2 separate regions of the Homo sapiens genome follow, and region 1 is linked to region 2. The links are contacts of gene promoters, found by promoter capture Hi-C in blood cells and fetal thymus (Javierre and others, 2016). All regions are on one chromosome and are shown on one strand. The core of a region is centred on a gene start or on the middle of the fragment in contact, and the rest is flanking DNA. Distances in the headings are between cores, read along the strand shown. Region 1 overlaps DIXDC1 (DIX domain containing 1). Region 2 holds the start of PIH1D2 (PIH1 domain containing 2).

Region 1 (3,962 bases), core at 175-2,674, 110 kb before region 2:
AACAGTAATACTTTTAACTATTTTATGTAAGGAATAGTTAACCTTGGCTCACATCTCTGCATGTTACTAGGAGCACTTGAGGAATACTGATATACCTTGGTCCCACTCTCAGAAATTCTGACTGCTCTATGGTGGGCCTAGACATTAGTATTTTTTGAAAAGCTTTCCAGGTGATTCTGGTTGTTAACCAAGGGGGCTGGGAACCCCTTGGTTAAGGGAACTGGACTGTTTCGCTGGGAAAAGACTCAAATCAGCTTTACAAGAATCATATGGGAAAGCTTGGGAAGATAAATCTTTCTGAGTTCCTACCCTCTGGAGACAACTGGTAGATTTAGGATGACGTCTGCTTATGAAAAACTTCCCTTGTGACCTTGACGTGCAGCCAGGTATGGCAACAGCGGGCTGGGTCAGTGCTTCTCATGCTTTCATGTGCATATGAATCACCAGGAGAGCTTGTTAAGATATAGGCTCTGATTCAGTAGGCTGGGGAGGAGCCCAGGAGTTTGCAGGAGGCTCCCAGGTGTTGCCGATGCTACTGATCTGGGAAGCACACTTTAGTAGACAGCCGCTTAGTATAGTTTATTACACAAGAGATTCATGGATTGGATGTGGTGGAGGGAGTGGTTTGACTCAGGTACATCCTGAAAGTTTTAGGGAAGTCATTTAAGCCTCAGCAGTGCATTTATTTAGGCAGCAGTGTGGTAGAGTGGAAAGAGCATTGGCTTGGGAGTCATATCTGGATTCCATATTCATGATTTACTGTTTGGGTAACCATGAACAAGTTATTTCACCGTTTTGTGTCTCTGTTTTCAATGAGGAAAATAAATACAAAAACATCTCCCTGCCAGATTAGCATTAGATAAAATGTGTTTAAAGAACCTAGCATAGCTCTTGATACAAAGTAGGTGTTCTGAAAAGTGACTATTACTGTTTATGCTGTGGAATCCTCTTTTGTTGGAAGACCAGACTGTGAGTAATGTGCATGAAAAGTACTCAACAGTACTAATCAGTTTTGCATCAGAGACAACTTCTACGGGCAAGAAAAAGCTAAGGTTACTTAAGTAGAAATTATCTTGACCTCAAGAAAAATACTTGTTCTTGTTTGTCCCCCCGCAATTAACTTTTGCAGTCATCTTAGTTATTGGCCTGATAAAATGTGACAAATGATTAACTGATTCAAACAAATATTTGTTGAGCACCTGCTACTCTAAGAGTCAAATAATTCTGAACTATTGTGACTCTCCACATAAAGCATATTTCAGGCCTTAGCTCCTTTGAGCTCACTGTCCTCTTTGCTTCTTTTCCTCCTTCAGGAGACCCTCTGAAGCTTGGGGTTCAGGTTGGGCTAATACTCTGTTAGCACCCTATGTACCCCGTCATAGCTTTGTTTCTACCAGCCTGCAAGCTGGGGCTTGTTGTAGCCTCATAACTGGGTACAGTGCCTCAAATTATTGTTGAACTGATTGTGTGACATAGGAAGCCCTCAGGGAGATCAGAGTCTGTGGTATCTGAGAGGTCAGGGAAAGCTTTCTGAAAAAAGTGATACTTGAGCTGAGACTTAAGAAGAGGCAGGTTGGCCGGGTGCGGTGGCTCATATCTGTAATCCCAGCACTTTGGGAGGCCTAGGTGGGTGGATCACCTGAGGTCAGGAGTTCAAGACCAGCCTGACCAATATGGTGAAACCCCATCTCTATTACAAATACAAAAATTAGCCCGGCGTGGTGGCAGGCACCCGTAGTCCCAGCTACTTGGGAGGCTGAGACGAGAGAATTGCTTGAACCTGGAAGGCGGAGGTTGCAATGAGCTGAGATCATGCCACTGCACTCCAGCCTGGGCGACAGAGCAAGACTCCATCTCCAAGAAAAAAAAAGAGGCAGGAGTTAGAAGGAGGTGGAGCGGCTGGAAAGCATGGTGCATTTGGGGAACTGTACATAATTCAGATGAGCTGAAGCATGGTGGGTATTTGGGGAATGGGGGTGAAGCTGGAGAACAGGTGAAGGCTAGCACGTGACGAGCTTAAATGGCAATTGGATTTTATCTTTGAGGATAATTGGAGACAAGTAACAGATTTTAAGCAGGAATGTGTGGAGGGTGGGTTGAGGATGATAATAGATACAGGGAAATTGGTTAGGAGTTTTATATAAAAGCCAGGTAATCAGATCCCACCAGTCACCTTAGTGTTCTTTCTGGGCTTAACTGCTTTCCCTCAGACCAGAGTGGTTCACTCTAGAGGTGCCCTTTGCCTGGTCTGCTTCTGACTGCACAATGGGAGCAGACCTTGGAGCATCACAGATCTCATCTGGTCCCTGGTGATGGGTGTCTGGCCCACGTGAGGCAGAAGGTGCAGCCATTTCTGTTCTGTGGAGTAAGTTGGATAGCAAGAGACCCTTGGTAAATGCATGGACAACATTACTGGGTTTTAATACCATGTCTGCTATGTCCTAGCTATGGGGACATTAGAGAAGTTACATAACCTCTCTGAACCTCATCCATAAAATGGAGATAATGCTAACTCTAGTGTTTTTCTGAGAATTGAATTGGATGACGATGACAAAAATAATGTCATTTAGTACATTTAGTAAGCGTCAATTTTATGTCAGGCCCTGGCCCAGGTACCTTCACTAATTAAAACATGGGTCAAACACCAAAAATTGGTTTAGTTCATGATAGGTGCTCAATAAATATTAGATTCCTCCTCCCACCTCCTCCTGATCGTTGCACTTCCTACAGTTTGTCAGTGGCTGATGGATTGTTGTCTTAGCACTGTCTTCCAAACGATGTTATTTATTCTCACAAATTGACAAAGAGAGAAAATAATGACGATTTAATTTATGTTCAGGAAGCAGCCAGTGAGTAATTTCCAACATTGTTTCATTAAGGAAGTACTTGGGGCTTAGGAATCAACTGTATTTTAACCAAATTATAAATTAATACAATTAGCCCTTGAACTTAAATTTTAGGCTCAGGGTCCTGGGCTGCAAAGAAACCAGTCAGAGCTGCTACTTGGAGAGTGACATTGTTTGTGTGATATTTTGATATTAGTGCCCATCTTTTGACCAAATAATCAGCATAAACATCTGAATACCAGTTCTGTTTAATGGACAAAATGTAATATGTAAGGTTTCCAAGGGTTGGAATGAGTTGTATGTCCCTACGTAGATGCCTGACCAGTTTCTGATAATACTGGGCCCTAGCTTTGTCTAAAAGTAAATGAAAATGCCTCTTAGTCTTCAGTAACATTGCTCACTATAGCCTTTCTTTTTCCTTCTTTGTGTAGATTTTCGGTAACCAGATCCTCTTTGACAATATAAAGCATGGATTAAAACTAACTCTGTAGCAATCCTAGGATTATTGGCTCAGGAGAATAAATCTTGGGTTGACTGTGAGATGATTTCACTTAAGTCTCATTTTGAAGAAAGCAGCTATGGGAGAGGCAGCTCTGAGCATGGTTTATTGTTTATTCCTGGTTGCCCAAGAGCAATTCGTATGAGTATCAGAGTCTGTTATGCATATGGCACGAGTAATTGTTTCTGAGAAGTGCGGTGGGTTGCTGGCAGTCGTGAATAGACCTGAAAACTGGCTGTGGTTCTGGGCCAAGCCCTCATCCCTGGTCAACAGAGAAAAACTTGAGGAAAGCAAGAGTCATAGTCATTGAAAGACTCATCTGCTTATGTGTGTCTACAGTGCCACCCAAGTCCGAGGTTAGCTTATCACTGGAGATTAGCATAAAACTAGAGAATTTGTGAACATGCTGTGTGTCTGACCATGATATAATCTTTCTTCTCTCTTTCCTCAAAAATTTCTCCTGCTTCTGGATATGGGTTGTTTATTATACCCCAGTCACAAACGCTTCCTCAGAGGGTATGAGGTAAGGGTTGAGATTAATATGCTCTCTTTCCCTTACTTATATCTTTTATTTTCCAGCAACAGCTGCAGGCCTATGTGGCCTGGGTGAATGCACA
Region 2 (3,728 bases), core at 1,152-3,651:
TTCTCTCAATTATTTGTACCTGATATCTCAGTTGTATCTTCTGGTTTGCCAACAGTTAGAGGTACTGGATGAGTGGTTGATTGGGGAGCTGGGATCCTTGTCCACTGACACAGGTTGATAAAAAGTATTTTTTCTTTTGGTTTCTGGAAAGCAAATAATTTTGCACATCTCAAAACCTAGTTTAAAACCATTTAAGGCCAGGCATGGTGGCTCCCGCCTGTAATCCGAGCACTTTGGGGGTCCAAGGCGGCCGGATCACCTGAGGTCAGGAATTTGAGACCAGCCTGGCCAACATGGTGAAACTCCGTTTCTACTAAAAATACAAAAATTAGCCAGGTGTGGTGGTGGATACCTGTAATCCCAGCTACTCGGGAGGCTGAGGCAGGAGAATCGCTTGAACCCAGGAGGCGGAGGTTGCAGTGAGCCAAGATTGTGCCATTGCACTCCTGCCCGGGTGACGAGAGTGAAACTCCATCTCAAAAAAAACAAAAACAAAAACATTTAAAAAATAATATCCTAAAAGCCACTCACCACAGGAATGAAAGAATTTTAGGCTCCAAGTAAGTCATTTCATGTATTAAAACTGCGTTTGATTATACTGTTGTTATTTGATTTCCCCAAGGCTGCTGGCTTTTAATTAGGAATCCAGACTGGGGTGGTGGCTCACGTATGTTACCCTAGTACTTTGAGAGGCTGAGGTAGGAGGGTTGCTTGAGGCCTAGGAGTTCGAGATTAGCCTGTGAAACATAGGGAGACCCTGTCTCTACAAAAATCATTTAAAAATTAGCCGGGTGTGGTGATGCCCACCTGTGATCCCAGCTACTTGGGAGGCTGAGGTGGGAGGATCGCTTGGGCTGCAATGAGCTGTGATTGTGAGCTGTGATTGTGCCACTGCACTCCAGCTTGAGCGACAGAGCCAGCAAGACCCTATCTCAAAAAAAAAAAAAAAAAAAAAAAAAAAAAGTCTGCCAGGCGCAGTGGCTCATGCCTGTAATCCCAGCACTTTGGGAGGCTGAGTCAGGTGGATCACCTGAAGTCAGGAGTTCAAGACCAGCCTGGCCAACATGGTGAAACCCCGCCTCTACTAATAATACAAAAATTAGCCGGGCATGGTAGTACACACCTGTAATCCCAGCTACTTGGGAGGCTGAGGCAGGAGAATCGCTTAAACCCGGGAGGCAGAGGTTGCAGCGAGCCAAGACCACACCATTGCACTCCAGCCTGGTGACAAAGTAAGACTCTGTCTCAAAAAACAAAACAAAACAAAACAAAACAAAAAAAAAACAAAAAAAATTAGCAATACCTAAGTGTAAAGTATTCTCTGGTTATTCTGGGATCATTTCATTCAAGACCTCCCCATCCCTGGCACCAACTCGACATACCAGAATCCTGGTCTGTAGACAAAGCTGTGGTTCTGGGGCAGCACAGAGCTGTTTCCCTTCTTTCAGCTGCTGCTGAATAAACTTCTCATAGCCCTCAGGGTCACTCTGAGCTAGATCATCTAGGAGGTTCCAAAACTGAGTAACTTGGGTAAGCAGACCTTTTGAGGATGTCTCCATGACTTATGAGTGGTGAATAATTTTCTTAAGCCTGTGGAAAAACACGACTTCAGGAAGAAAACTGTCTGTGTAATTATTGATTCATTTCTGCTTTGGGGAGGTGGAATGGGTCAGGAATTGTTTTGGTGAAGTTAGGACAGCATTTGTGTCTAAAAGGTTGTGGATCAGCACCACTTTATGTTTTCCTTATTCTTTAATTATCTAGTACCTCTTCCTAAATTCTCACATTGTCCTCTCAGATAAGGCCTTACTTCTATTTGGACCCTGACAAGTCAGAGTAATCATTTTAAGTCTGGGTTTCCTGATCTTCTTGTTCCAACACCTGACTGGTGGCTCCCCAGTTCTGAAATTGCCAGAGGTGTGGTGTGGGGTGAGGGCCACATAAGACTTCCTTAATCCTCAGTATAGTTTAGTATTTCAAAGCATGGACTTGTGAGCCAGAATGCCTAGATTCCGGTCTTAGTTCTATCTCTCACTAGCTCTGTGACCTTGAGCAATTAATGTTCTGTTCAAAATGAAGACGATAATACCTCTACCATAGGATTATTGCGAGATTAAGTAAGCTAATAGAGAGGCTGGGACACTTCTCTACGTCTTCAGATAAATCTCCTTAGCCTCTTCTCCCATTGGAGAGGTGTCCCACAGCATCTTTAGAATGAGGAAAAGAGGTTTAGATTCTTCAATTACTGTGTAAGGGTTATGCTAAACGGGAAACTTAACTAACGGATAATCATTCCATAGGTCTGCAAACCCACCTCTTCTCTCAGTTCTAACGGGTAATCATTCTATAGGTTGGCAAACCCACCTCTTCTCTCAGTTCCTTGACAAACCGCGACGCCTGTTACCAGGGTAACCAGCCTGGGTACAACATCTAATTGGGTCCGGGGAACTTCAGGGAGAAAAGTCTCTTCATATCTAGTTCCGGAATGTCCCCCTTCTGGTGCCAGGCTTGCTTTTCAGTTGGGCCTGACCCACTTCTCTTCCAGGAAAGCGCCCGCCTTCCTTCTGCACCCGTCAACCTCTGGAGTGTCCTGAAAACCCTCCCTTGTGGGAGTCTCTGGGCTGCCTGTTGGTGGGACGATTTCTCAGGAGCACGACTTCCGGCCTGAAAAGGAAGTCTCCTCCTTTTTCTCCCAAACCACTTCTTCCCCCCTACCCCCCGCCACGCGAGGCTGCGGCGCACGGTATGGGTGTGTTTGTGTGTATTTGTGTGGGGAGGGCGTTTGGAGGGAAGGTTACCGGGAGCTCCGAGGCCGCTGGGGAACAGGGATCCCGGTGACAAAGATGGGGATATTTCCTCTGTCTTCCACTTGGAAACCTCAACCCCCGCTTCAGGCTCCCTAGATACTTTCTGGGGCCCAACCGAAGGCCGTAGCCATCCAAAGCGTTCCCAGCCTTTCTGGGGAGTGAAACTTACCCCCGGGGTTCGTCCTAGAGGAGCGTGAGCGGGGAATGCCCAGGTCAACCGGGCTGTCCGAATTCCGCCCCGGCTCAGCCTCCGGCCTCAGTCCGGGAGAGAGATCTGCCTGTCGGTCTGGGCTGGGGGAAACGCGGCAGTGGCCTGGGCCACAGGTGAGGGCAGAGTAACCAGTGGGAAGGCTGCGTTTTCACGAAGGACTCGGGTGAAGCTGCAGAGCTGCCTTTGAGCCCTGACTCCTTGGCTTCCTGGGTCGGAGGAGATCTTGTAATGGAGTGGTTCTTCGTCTCACTAGCAAGATGCCTGATTTCCTCAGGATCAAGGGGTGAGTGAGCGTTGGGGTGGTTGCACAAAGCTCCTGCTAGCTACACACGAAAATATTCTTGTCATCTAGTTTTTGGAAGCTTCCGTAGCAAGTAGGAAATAAAATGCCCCCAAATGGAGAAATTTAGGACATCTTTGCATTTGATGTTTTGAGTAATCAGTTTCTGTTACTGTTGACACCCGTGGTTCCTGACACTCTCAAATCTACGTATTTGCTTCAGTGCAAACTATATTGGGATTGGAGGTTTGATTTTTAATTTAGACAGTGACATACATCATTTGCCTGGGACTATGTGGCTTGGGACGTTACAGCTTTAAGGGAACTTCATCTACAAAATAGGGATGGAGATACTTGCCTCATATAAAAAGTAGTTATGAGGATTAAATAAAATGGTGCTCATGAAAGCACTTAATTTTATGTAGTCTTG

The links. Contacts are between HindIII fragments. The CHiCAGO score rates a contact against its expected background, and 5 or more counts as called.
Region 1: a contact is called between a fragment that was not itself captured here and the fragment with the promoter of PIH1D2 in region 2, in 1 of 17 cell types (erythroblasts). The highest score is 5.1, in erythroblasts.

The regions. Positions count from the first base shown.
Region 1 is chr11:111,960,625-111,964,586 of GRCh38, forward strand. It overlaps DIXDC1 (DIX domain containing 1), which reads left to right. Exons shown (of 20, transcript NM_001037954.4): 2 at 3,925-3,962. Among named protein-coding and RNA genes, the nearest start is that of DIXDC1, 25 kb to the left of the region's middle. The HindIII fragment of the contact is 199 bases long and covers 1,326-1,524 here.
Region 2 is chr11:112,071,616-112,075,343 of GRCh38, forward strand. It overlaps PIH1D2 (PIH1 domain containing 2), which reads right to left and starts at 2,402. Exons shown (of 6, transcript NM_138789.4): 1 at 2,365-2,402; 2 at 1,383-1,590; 3 at 20-143. The coding sequence starts at 1,559. NKAPD1 (NKAP domain containing 1) reads left to right here and starts at 2,684. Exons shown (of 6, transcript NM_018195.4): 1 at 2,684-3,301. RefSeq lists enhancers at 2,487-2,536, 2,947-3,066, 3,127-3,176. The HindIII fragment of the contact is 10,336 bases long and covers 1-3,378 here.